Regions from separate parts of the Homo sapiens genome. Here region 2 is linked to region 1. The links are contacts of gene promoters, found by promoter capture Hi-C in blood cells and fetal thymus (Javierre and others, 2016). All regions are on one chromosome and are shown on one strand. The core of a region is centred on a gene start or on the middle of the fragment in contact, and the rest is flanking DNA. Distances in the headings are between cores, read along the strand shown. Region 1 holds the start of ZFAND6 (zinc finger AN1-type containing 6). Region 2 overlaps IL16 (interleukin 16).

Evidence for each region. The method cuts DNA at HindIII sites, captures the fragments that hold promoters and counts their contacts. A CHiCAGO score of 5 or more calls a contact.
Region 2: a contact is called between a fragment that was not itself captured here and the fragment with the promoter of ZFAND6 in region 1, in 1 of 17 cell types (total CD4 T cells). The highest score is 5.0, in total CD4 T cells.

The regions. Positions count from the first base shown.
Region 1 is chr15:80,057,674-80,062,848 of GRCh38, forward strand. ZFAND6 (zinc finger AN1-type containing 6) reads left to right here and starts at 2,003. Exons shown (of 7, transcript NM_019006.4): 1 at 2,003-2,136. RefSeq lists silencers at 1,681-2,009, 1,706-2,575. The HindIII fragment of the contact is 4,474 bases long and covers 70-4,543 here.
Region 2 is chr15:81,290,855-81,296,029 of GRCh38, forward strand. IL16 (interleukin 16) reads left to right here. Exons shown (of 19, transcript NM_172217.5): 12 at 1,702-2,183. Among named protein-coding and RNA genes, the nearest start is that of STARD5, 31 kb to the right of the region's middle. RefSeq lists enhancers at 1,658-1,787, 2,600-3,118, 3,298-3,387, 3,418-3,477. The HindIII fragment of the contact is 1,773 bases long and covers 1,496-3,268 here.

The DNA.
Region 1 (5,175 bases), core at 753-3,252:
CCGCGCCCAGCAAATTGTATTCTTTAAAAATGGGTAAGTTGTAATGATATGTGTGTTAAATCTCAATAAAGCTTGAGTTTCTAGCTTTAATAACTGGAAACATGGTGTCACCATTAGCCAAAATTGGGACTACAGGAGGAAGAATGTGTTTGGGGGAAAATAAGCCTTGGACATATTGAATGGCTGTGATAAGCACACAGTGAATGTCCTGCTCTGGAACACAGGAAAGAAGATGGGGCTGGAAATAATAATGCATACACAATCATTTATTGAGCATCTGTTACATACCAGGTGCTGTGAATATGTTGTTTATGTACACTGACCGGTAGGTTGCGTATGTATACTGTTTATTGTTTCTGCTCCCTCTCTTCCCCTGTGTAAGTCAATGAGAGAAGGGCCTTCATCTTTCTTAATGCTGTCTCCAGCACCTACAGCACAGGCTGGCAGAGAGTCGGCATATAGCATTTACTGGGTGAATAGAAATGCAGTATCTTTTAACCCTCATAACAATCCTTTGTGGTAGGTTTTCGTTCCCATTTCACACAATTTTCTTAAGAGCACAAAGCTAGTAAGTGACAGTGGTCTGTCTGCATTCCACGTCACAATGCAATACTATAATCTCTCAATCTCCCAGAACGAATCTGGAACAAAGGAAAGCAGTAAAGGTCATGTAAACCCAATTTCTGCAAATTCATAATAACTGCATATGAAAATCCAACTGGGTTAGGTGCTGGAGTTAATACAACGATAAACTGGACAAGAATCGGAAGAAAAATACATTTAAGACAAAATCCGTAAGACTTGACGCATAACCTTGCTAGTTCAAGAAGCTCTTTCACACATATTATGTTATTTAACCCCCACAAATAGCCTAACAAGTAGGTTTTATTACCATTCCAATCAGGCTTTTGTCCTCCACTTAAACTGTACTCCCCAAGGTGACTTCTGTGTTGCTAAATGCTCAACAGGTACTCACTTCAGGCACAACATTTAAGGGAGCACCAAAAAACTAAGTGATCAAGATGAATAACATTTTTATTTTTTAAAATTAAAATTAATGCAAAAAAAAAATCCATGAATAACAAAATACCAACATTTAAAATAAAGAGGATTCTCAGGACTGGGCTCGCCTACCTGGATGCCCTAACGGAACTCCTCATTCACAATAGGATTGAATGACCTCGAACTAAAGTGTCACGTACTTCCTGCTCGTGATGCTCGTGAGCCCGAACGAAGGCTGAAAAACTTCAGGGGGAGCCATTCTGCCTATCACCCCTAGTTCCAGCGCAGCAGCCCAGCGTGCACCACGCAGGTGGGAACTGACCCCGTGCTTTTGGAACAGGCTGGAACTGGGGGTGCTTGTGCCTGTGCATGTATGTATTGCACACGTGTGCATGCACGCTTCTCGTCTTGCTTCTATTTCCAAGTCCCAGTTCAGGACAGGGCAGAGAACTGCTTTCCAGTATGCGCCCTGAGCTCGGACTTTGCGCTTGCAGACTGAGGCGCCGGCCTGCATGGGAAGACAGAAGCTCAGAATTCCTTCCTGCACAAGTGGCAGGTGGAGTGCAACTCTTTTTGGTGCCTCAGTCCAAGACAGGGACACGCCATTCCCTGCGAGGTGGCAAAGGTACCTGAACCTACATAACCAAGCCCTTAAAGTCTCCGCGGCACCTCTTAATCGCCTTCCCGTAGCTATTGGAGGTAGAGAAACCGCGGCGGGAAGCGCCCCAGAGAGGGCAGTGGAGCAAGGGACACTGGAGGTGCAGAAGGCGGAGGAGCATCTCCTTTCGCTCCGCCCCGCCTCTTTTCCTGCCTCCGGCCAATTGCCGTGCGCTCCGAGCCTTGACCCCGCCTCTCCCCGCCTCCTCCGGCCTGCGGCCCCGCCCGCGCCGGTAATAATTAGCGGGCGGGCGGGGCCCGCGCGTCAGCCGCGGGAGCCGGCCAATCCAGTGGCTCTCCTCCGCGGTCGCGTCATAGGCCGAACAACCAAACAGAAAAGTTTAATAAACAGCGGACGGAGGGGCCGGCGGTGGCGGAGCCGGAGCAAGCAGGGGTTCGGCGGCATTACCTGTACCCATTCACCGGCGGCTACCGGCGGCGGCGCGCAGCGTGTCAGGCGGAGAGACCCGCCGCCAGGTGAGGAGCGCGGCCCGCGGGGCCCGGCTTGCCCGGCGCTGCCCCTCCCCCGCCTGCTCCCTTCCCCCACCCGGCTGCAGCTAGGCGAGGCCCGCCCCCGGCCCCTCCCGGCGCCCGAGAGCCGGAAGCGGAGGGCGGCCGGCCGGCGCAGCAGGTGGTGGGCCCGCGGGGGCCGCGGGCGAGAGGGCGAGGACTCCCGGCTCCGGGGGTGGGGGCCGGAGATCGGCGGGTTCACCTCAGACGGCGCGCGGGCGCCCGCGGCCGGGGGCCGCTTCCTGTCAGGGTGGTCGCGCTGGGGTCGGGAGCCTCAGTTCTTCAGGGCCGCGGAGGCCGCGACGCGCGCCGCCCCGAGCGGGTTGCGAGCGGTTGGCTGGCGGGGGTCGGAAGGGCCCCGGGCACACTGGGGCGCGTCAGTTCCCCGCCTCCTCCGAGTCTCAGGTCCTCTTCGGGATGTTTTTCCACCTGCGGCGTTTTTCAGAAACCAGCCGGAGGCAGCCCGGTGTCTCCAACTCCTGACTGGCACCGGGAAGGGAATTGGTCTCTTTTTTTCCTGCTTGGGTTTAGCTTGCTTAGGATTCTAAATTTTTTGTCTGCTTTTTTGAAATAGTTATATTTAAGTTTTAGCTACCTAAAAAAGTATGAAAGAATATTGTGTTTGAAATCTTTTTAACTTGGTTTTTAAGTCACGTGCTAACTATCCTACACAGTTGGGACGCTATGATTTACCTTCACATCTCGGAAGTTGTAACCAGTTGTGAGGAAGTTAGGACCTTGGGGTTACCTAAAGATAATTTATATTAAGTTGTTGGGCCATAAAAACTGGGCAGAATTGGCCACGCGCGGTGACTCAACGCCTGTAATCCCAGCACTTTGGGAGGCCGACGCGGACTAATCACGAGGTCAGGAGATCGAGACCATCCTGGCCAACATGGTGAAACCCTGTCTTTACTAAAAATACAAAAATTAGCTGGGTGTGGTGGCGGGCGCCGGTAGTCCCAGCTACTGGGAGGCTGAGGCAGGAGCATCGCTTGAACCCGGGAGGCGGAGGTTGCAGTGAACCAAGATCGCGCTACTGCACTCCAGCCTGGCGACAGAGGGAGACTCCGTCTCAAAAAAAAGCCGGGCAGAATTAATGATTTTGAAGCTCCGAGAAACAGGATTAAATTCCTCTTTCAAACCGAAATCGGAATTTGATTTTTTAAAAGTGTAAAATACCATAAACTTTTAAGGTTAGTTGTTCGGTAACCATGTCACCAATTTTAAGGCACTTTCTGAGTTGTGTATAGTTTCTCCAGAGCCCTAGGGGAAATGTTTTGCAAAATATGCACGTTTAGCTTTCCAAAACAAGTTGTCTTTTTTATTTTTACTTTTTTACGTTTTAAAATGTGTTTAAAGGGAGACATCACAAATGTGCAGGAGAAAATACAGGGGTCGGTGGATTTATTATCTTGTAGTGATAACTTTTTGGGTGTATGCATATGTCAGAACTTACACGTTTTACACTTCAAATATGTGCAGTTTATTGTCAACTATATGTCAGTAACGTTTTTAAGAAGTAACCAAAATATATTTAATACTACCAAAAAAAAACACGGTAAAGTATAAGCAGATAAAAACATCATAAATCCTTGATGACTCCCCCCAAACCCAAAACTGGAACATTACTAAAACTTGCATTTGTCTATGAGTTTCTTATCTGTGCAGTGGATTTTGTGTATGTCACTTCCTTGACTTTTTGAAAAATAGTTTTATCATATATGTTTGTATGCCGAAACTGTGTGGCATTTAATTTGTTTTTCTTTTGAGCTTTATAAAAATAGTATGTGGCTGTAGTTTATTTCATTGCTTTATGATATGTTAATCTGCCATAACTTATGGGCACTTCGACCGTGTTTTTATTGTTTTTTATTTTGTTTTGTTATAAGCAGTCTTGCTCTGTGAACATTTCTTGTTTCCGGCTCTTGGTACACAAGTACAAGAATTTCTCTAGAGTAAATACTTAATGTGGATTGCATTAGACGGTATTAGGTAATCAGGACTAGAATAGATTGAATTACTTAGAAATAAGATGAATGAAAAACATTAGGATTCTCTATTATGTTTAAATAGAAGATTCATAGCCGTAGTGATTGAACTAGTTCAACCTAGTTGAACATTTGCATGAAAACCCAAAATTCCTGTTAACCTATGTGTAATGACTCTCTTACTTTGAAGTCACATTGTAAAAAGTCTGGCACTGTTTGGTATCTCCTTTTCAATGCAAAAATAGTATAGTAGAAAAAACGCTGGATTGTATGTAAAATAAATTATCCTTTCTGCTGTTCCTCTCCTCCCCTCTAATCTCTAGCAAATTACTTAAAAATTTCTCTTGTGCCTTAGCATACTCATGTAAAAGAAACTTGTCCTAAGCTTATCCTTCCACTTTTGCACAGACTTTAATTAAGGAAAACACCTGTCAAATGTCACACCCTTTAAGGGAAAGCATTAGGACCAAGGTGTTATTCTGTGGAATTAAATTTTGTATCCTTTGGAACATTTTTGGAAAAGTTGTGTGGTGGTTCAGGATTTGTTAACTCCATATTTAAATATGTTTTAGATTAGAGAATGCCCACAAGGTGTGTTTCCCGAGGATCTGTTTCATTATGCTAACAGGAACACAGCGACAAATTAGGGAATAGTATCTCCTTACTATCCTGAAGATAGGTGTGTTTTTATGTGTTTCATGTTTCATTCATGTATGTAAGTGTGAATTTACATGTAATTTTGAATAACCTTTTTGTTTGAAGGCATGGGAGTAGAGATGGTTTCATTTTTTCTATATGTAGCTTGCAGACAAATATCAGGATGCTTTGTTTTGGTAGGGCTGTATTCTGCTTTTAAAAACCTTATTTTTTATTTAATTATAAGGACAATGTGTATATGGGGTTTTCCCCCTCAAACTTGAGAAAGAATAGAAAGTTACTAAGAAAAGCCACCTATAACACCATGATAGATAACTATTATTAACATTTTGTCAGGTATACCCCTGGTCTTTATGTG
Region 2 (5,175 bases), core at 1,132-3,631, 1.2 Mb after region 1:
TGCAGGCACTTGAGTTTGCAGCCCCTAGTTTATAATAATAGAATATTAGAAAAACTAACATTTGGGAATATAATTCTGACATTTATTTAATTCTTATAATTCTTATAATAAATCAGAGACTATGCTAATTCATGCATTCACACATAATTTTTATGCAAATTTTATAAGAAAAAGTGAGGCCCTCAGAGACTCTCTTACTCAAAGTCATACCACTAGAGCACAGAGGCTCTGGAATGGAGATCCAGCTGGCTTGACTCCCATGCCTAGCCATTGGGCATTAATCACGTCTACCATGGAACATCCTTATGAAAGAACAACATGCAACCATTGGCACTGATATTGACAAGAAATTAAATGATCTGGGGAAATGTTCAGAGAAAAGAACAGAACACAATTTATTTCAGCTCTGGTTTATTATTTCTACCCACCCAACATGCATATATGCTCGGGAAAGCATGACAGAGAAACTCACCAAAATTTTGACAGTAGTTATTTCTGGCTGATAGGAACACAGGTGAAGTGAATTTTTACTTTCATTCCTTCCTCCTTGTGGCTGAGTTTTCTCTAAGGAGGATGCATTATTTCATGATCAGGAAAAAAAAAAAGAAAACTTTTTATTTAAAGAGAAAGTGAGTTAGGAGCTTGGCTGGCCTTGGTTCTCTCTCATGGGGCTCCTCTGGCTTTCTTGGTCTCTCAGAATGAGCTGGAATTTGAGCAAGAGACTAGATTTCAATCCTCTCCCACCCCTTCAAGCTGTGATTTTAGGAAAGGGGCACCCTTGACAGCTTACCACTAGAGAGAAGGGCCTCTCAAGGATGTGTGGGTAGCCCTAGTGCTGGAAACTAGGGTAGGGGGTACTGAGAACCAGGAAGGGCTAATGGGGAGGGAGGGAGGAAGGTGCAGTGGCTAAGAAATAGCGGCTTTCTGCCCTCACCTCACCCTCAACTGGAAAGAAATAGTGACTTCTTCGTGTAAGATTCAAAGTGCCTTGACAGGTAGTTTCTCTGTCTTTGTTATTGAGCCTCAAAATAACCCCAGTGACTTTAAAATTATCATCCTCATTTTACAGATGCAGAAATGGAGTTGGGTCCCCCAGGAAGCTGACTCTGAGATGGAGTTTGGTCTGCAGGCAGTGTCCTGGGGTTCACTACCTGTGGCAGGGAGGGGAGCAGGCAGGGTAGACAGAGGGAGGACGGAGCTGAGGTGCACACCCAACAGCTTCAGCCAAGCCCTGGAGCTCTGCAGCCAAAGTCCCCATTAGAGTTGTCCTATGTTGGCCAACATAGCTGGGCCTCTGTAACCCTATCTCCAGCAGTCCCTGGAGATGGGCTGCCCCATTGGACAAGGCAGCTGTCTGCAGCTGTGGCAGCCCCTGGAGGGACCCACAGCTGAAAGTAGTCTGCCAGCAGCACTCCCCACAGCTGGGACACCAAGCCCTTCCTCGATGGGTGATCTGGGTGGCATATCTCCATATACATCAGTCATAGGCTCAGAAAGCTTGAATGATTTTCCCAACCCAAAGTCATACAGCTCGCCAGGGACCAACACCAAGACTGCCATACTCCAGATCCACAGTGACTTCAGATAAGAAGCAGATGGCCGATGTGCAGTGTGCTGCCCGTGGCAGTCACAGGTGAGGCCAGGGGGTATTTCTGTTTTCTGAAGCTCAGCTGTGAAGATTCTCTTGTGCTTCCCACACAGGTGTCAAAAGGCTGGAAAGCAGTTGGCACGGGCGGCCCACCTTGGAGAAGGAACGAGAGAAGAACTCAGCACCCCCGCATCGCAGGGCTCAGAAGGTCATGATCCGCTCCAGCAGTGACAGCAGCTACATGTCTGGGTCCCCAGGGGGAAGTCCTGGGAGTGGCAGTGCTGAGAAGCCGTCCTCTGACGTGGACATCAGCACACACAGCCCCAGCTTGCCTCTGGCACGGGAGCCAGTGGTGCTTTCTATAGCATCCTCCAGGCTGCCCCAGGAGAGCCCACCCCTCCCAGAGAGCCGGGACAGCCACCCGCCGCTGAGACTGAAGAAATCCTTTGAGATTTTGGTGAGAAAGCCTATGTCCTCCAAGCCCAAGCCTCCACCCAGAAAATACTTTAAAAGTGACAGTGACCCTCAGAAGAGTCTGGAAGAGAGAGAGAACTCCTCATGCTCTTCTGGGCACACCCCACCCACCTGTGGCCAGGTAAGAGGATGGGTCCACAGGTTGAGTGTTTCCAGGACCAGACTCAAATCTTGAGCATGGGCAAATTAGCAAGTTAGTGTTAGCAGGGCCAGAATGAAAGTTTCTCCTGCTCCACCAGAGAGAAACTGTTGCCTAGGACTCAGCTGAGGACTGACCATGAAAAGATGGGTTTGAAGGTTGACAGATAATTGAAGTCCCAGTCCTGCTTGCTGGCATCTGGGTTCCCACCCATAACACACTGGAATTTAAGGTTCCTTTCTTGTGTCATTTTTCACTCACCATGAAGGAAAAATACCAGGGCCCCTGCAGGGTCTCAGTCTTTGCATGTGGATCTTTGAGTGTCCTGCTTGTAGGGAGAATAGTGGCTTAAATAACTAAAAAGGGGCCTGGCACGGTGGCTCATGCCTGTAATCCCAGCACTTTGGGAGGCTGAGCCGGGTGGATCATGAGCTCAGGAGTTCAAGACCAGCCTGGCCAAGATGGTGAAACCCTGTCTCTACTAACAATACAAAAATTAGCCGGGTATGGTGGCAGGTGCCTGTAATCCCAGCTACGCAGGAGGCTGAGGCAGGGAATTGCTTAAACCCGGGAGGAGTGGCTCCTTCCAAGGGCTATTGTGAGGATTAAAGGTAACCACTTAAGGCAAGTACCTGACAGCATCTCAGGCATATTAGCATTCATTGCCATGATCTTTCCCCATCAGGCCCCTTAAAGCCCTCCTTTCCACCCCTTGCATAAAAGGCAGACTGACTGACAGACAGCTGCTGTGTCTAGAACCATTTTATGCGCAGGCTAACCACACTGAGTACTTTCATGTACATTGTGTCAATTAAATCTTACAACCACCTGATGGTGAGAGTCCCAGTTGTGCAAAGAGGGAACTGAGAAACTCGCTCAAGTTCACATTGCTAGTGGGTCACAGTTACCCACTATGCAATGCTGAGTTTCCCATCCTTACCCAGAAGCTGTCTCCCCCATCACGGAATGGCCCTGCAGGGGCCCTGGCCCTTCCCTTAAGCACACCGTGGGCAGGTGGGAGGGGGCCTCTGGAAATCCCCTAAAACAATCTACAGTGAGGGTTGGCAAGCTTCAGGAGGGGTAGCGGTGGAGACGGGATGTTGAGTAGGAGGGGTGAAAGTGAAGGAGGGAGGAGGAAGCCAGGTTACTAAAAAGGAAGTGCAGTTTTGCAGAGCGCTGGCAGGATGTGGCTGGTTAGCAACACATGATGGAGTTATCAGATGGATCTGTTCTCCCACCCCCTCTTTTAAGCCCATATTTCATTTTCCCTTGGGCCTGAGACCTATGAGTCCAGAAGGGCAAATCAGGAGCAGCCAGCTGAGAAGCCAGTCATTTTGCCTTCCTCCTGGAGGCCCAGAAAAGGAGTGCAGTTGCCACAGCAGGTCTGTCCCAGTGATGCCCTTGGCAGAGCCACATAGGGTCAGGGAATATTCCCGAGTAAGGCGTCTGGAGAAGGAACTGGGGTGTCCTCAGGGAAGCCCAGGCAAGGAACTTCCCACAGGTCATCTTTCATGCCCTGTGTGCCTCAGCAGAATACAGGGCTCCCTCCTGTACCTGCCCCCAACAGCACCGTCTCCTGGAGACAAGGCCGTTCTGCAGCTGCCCTCCTCTGTTTGCTCTGGTCTGTCCCACGTGGCCAGCAGATCCTTCTCCCACAAACATTTCCATAAAAGCAATCAGCACGACATAATTTTATTGGGCACTGGAGAGGCGGGGGTCACAGAGAAAGGATCATAGCACGCAATAGAAAACAGGAAGCAATTTGCTTGAGGTCACTCTCAAAATTTCCTTGACCATTCCTGGGGATTTCTCACTGGATGTTTTCTTCCGTGGCCACAGTGTCCACTGTCTCACTCTCCCACTTTTCCCTCCCTGCAGTCTTTTCTCTACAGGGTCCCAAGACTGTTGTCAAGCTGCTATGGATGACCCCCAAGTCTTTCCCATCTACTCTAATTCAAGGGGACTTAACTCTCACAACCAATATGAACTTTGGGATATTTTCTTCAACAAAAAACTAACATCCCTCTTATAAAAAATCAGCCTAAACTCTCCCCCGTGCTTTAAAAAACTTGCTTAAAAAAACACAACAGGATTTTCGAAGAATCCTTTCTTAGAAAACAAACAAAAAAACCAAACAAAAACGTACTTTCTCCCCACTATGCTGAATCTGCTCTCTCCCTCTTTCCTTCTTTCTCTTCTCCCTCCCTCATCCACCAAGCATGGTTCCAGGAAACACTAGTAAGAGAAAAATTTGTGTAAAATCAAATTTATTTCAGGGGCTAATTCTGAAGTCTCCCATGAAGAGGATGCAATATTGGATGTGTTGATGAAAAGACAAAACACATTTGTGCTGTTCTAAGTTGTAAAGCTGCATTGACTGCAGTTGGTATCACATGTGGCTGCCTGTAAAAGAGCTAACAATTCATGAATGTCAACAGATGTCAACTTACAGAGCTCCCAACCAGGTGAAATTAAATTTCATCCCCATGTAATTTCTCTTGTGGACAAGAGACTTAGAGATCATCAGGCCAATATTTGGAGCTTCTAATGCCATGACTCAGCCTTACTTTTTTTAAGGGCTAGTTCGAGAAGCTCAATGATTCCTTTGAAATTGGTTGATCTCTCAGTATTTCATAATGCTCTCCTAAAGCTCAGTTCTACAGTAGGGAACTCGAGCTGAGGCAATGCTCTGTGAATACACTTCTAACTTTTGTAGACCTTTGCTTCCTCCAAAATGTTTATTGTCAATGTAGATCTTAAATTTCAGGTCATGGATATTTGCCATTGCTTTTTTAGTCCCAAAGGATGCATTTGTTCCTTCCTCTTTCCTTCCTCTCTGGAAGGAAGCCTGCAGCCATGTCAAATGGCCCATCATTACACAAATCTGGAATGAACCGGACGTGGAGGCCACCGCAGTATAGCAAAGCATTTCTCTTGCAGACAATCAAATACAGGTGGCATCATTTTGATGATG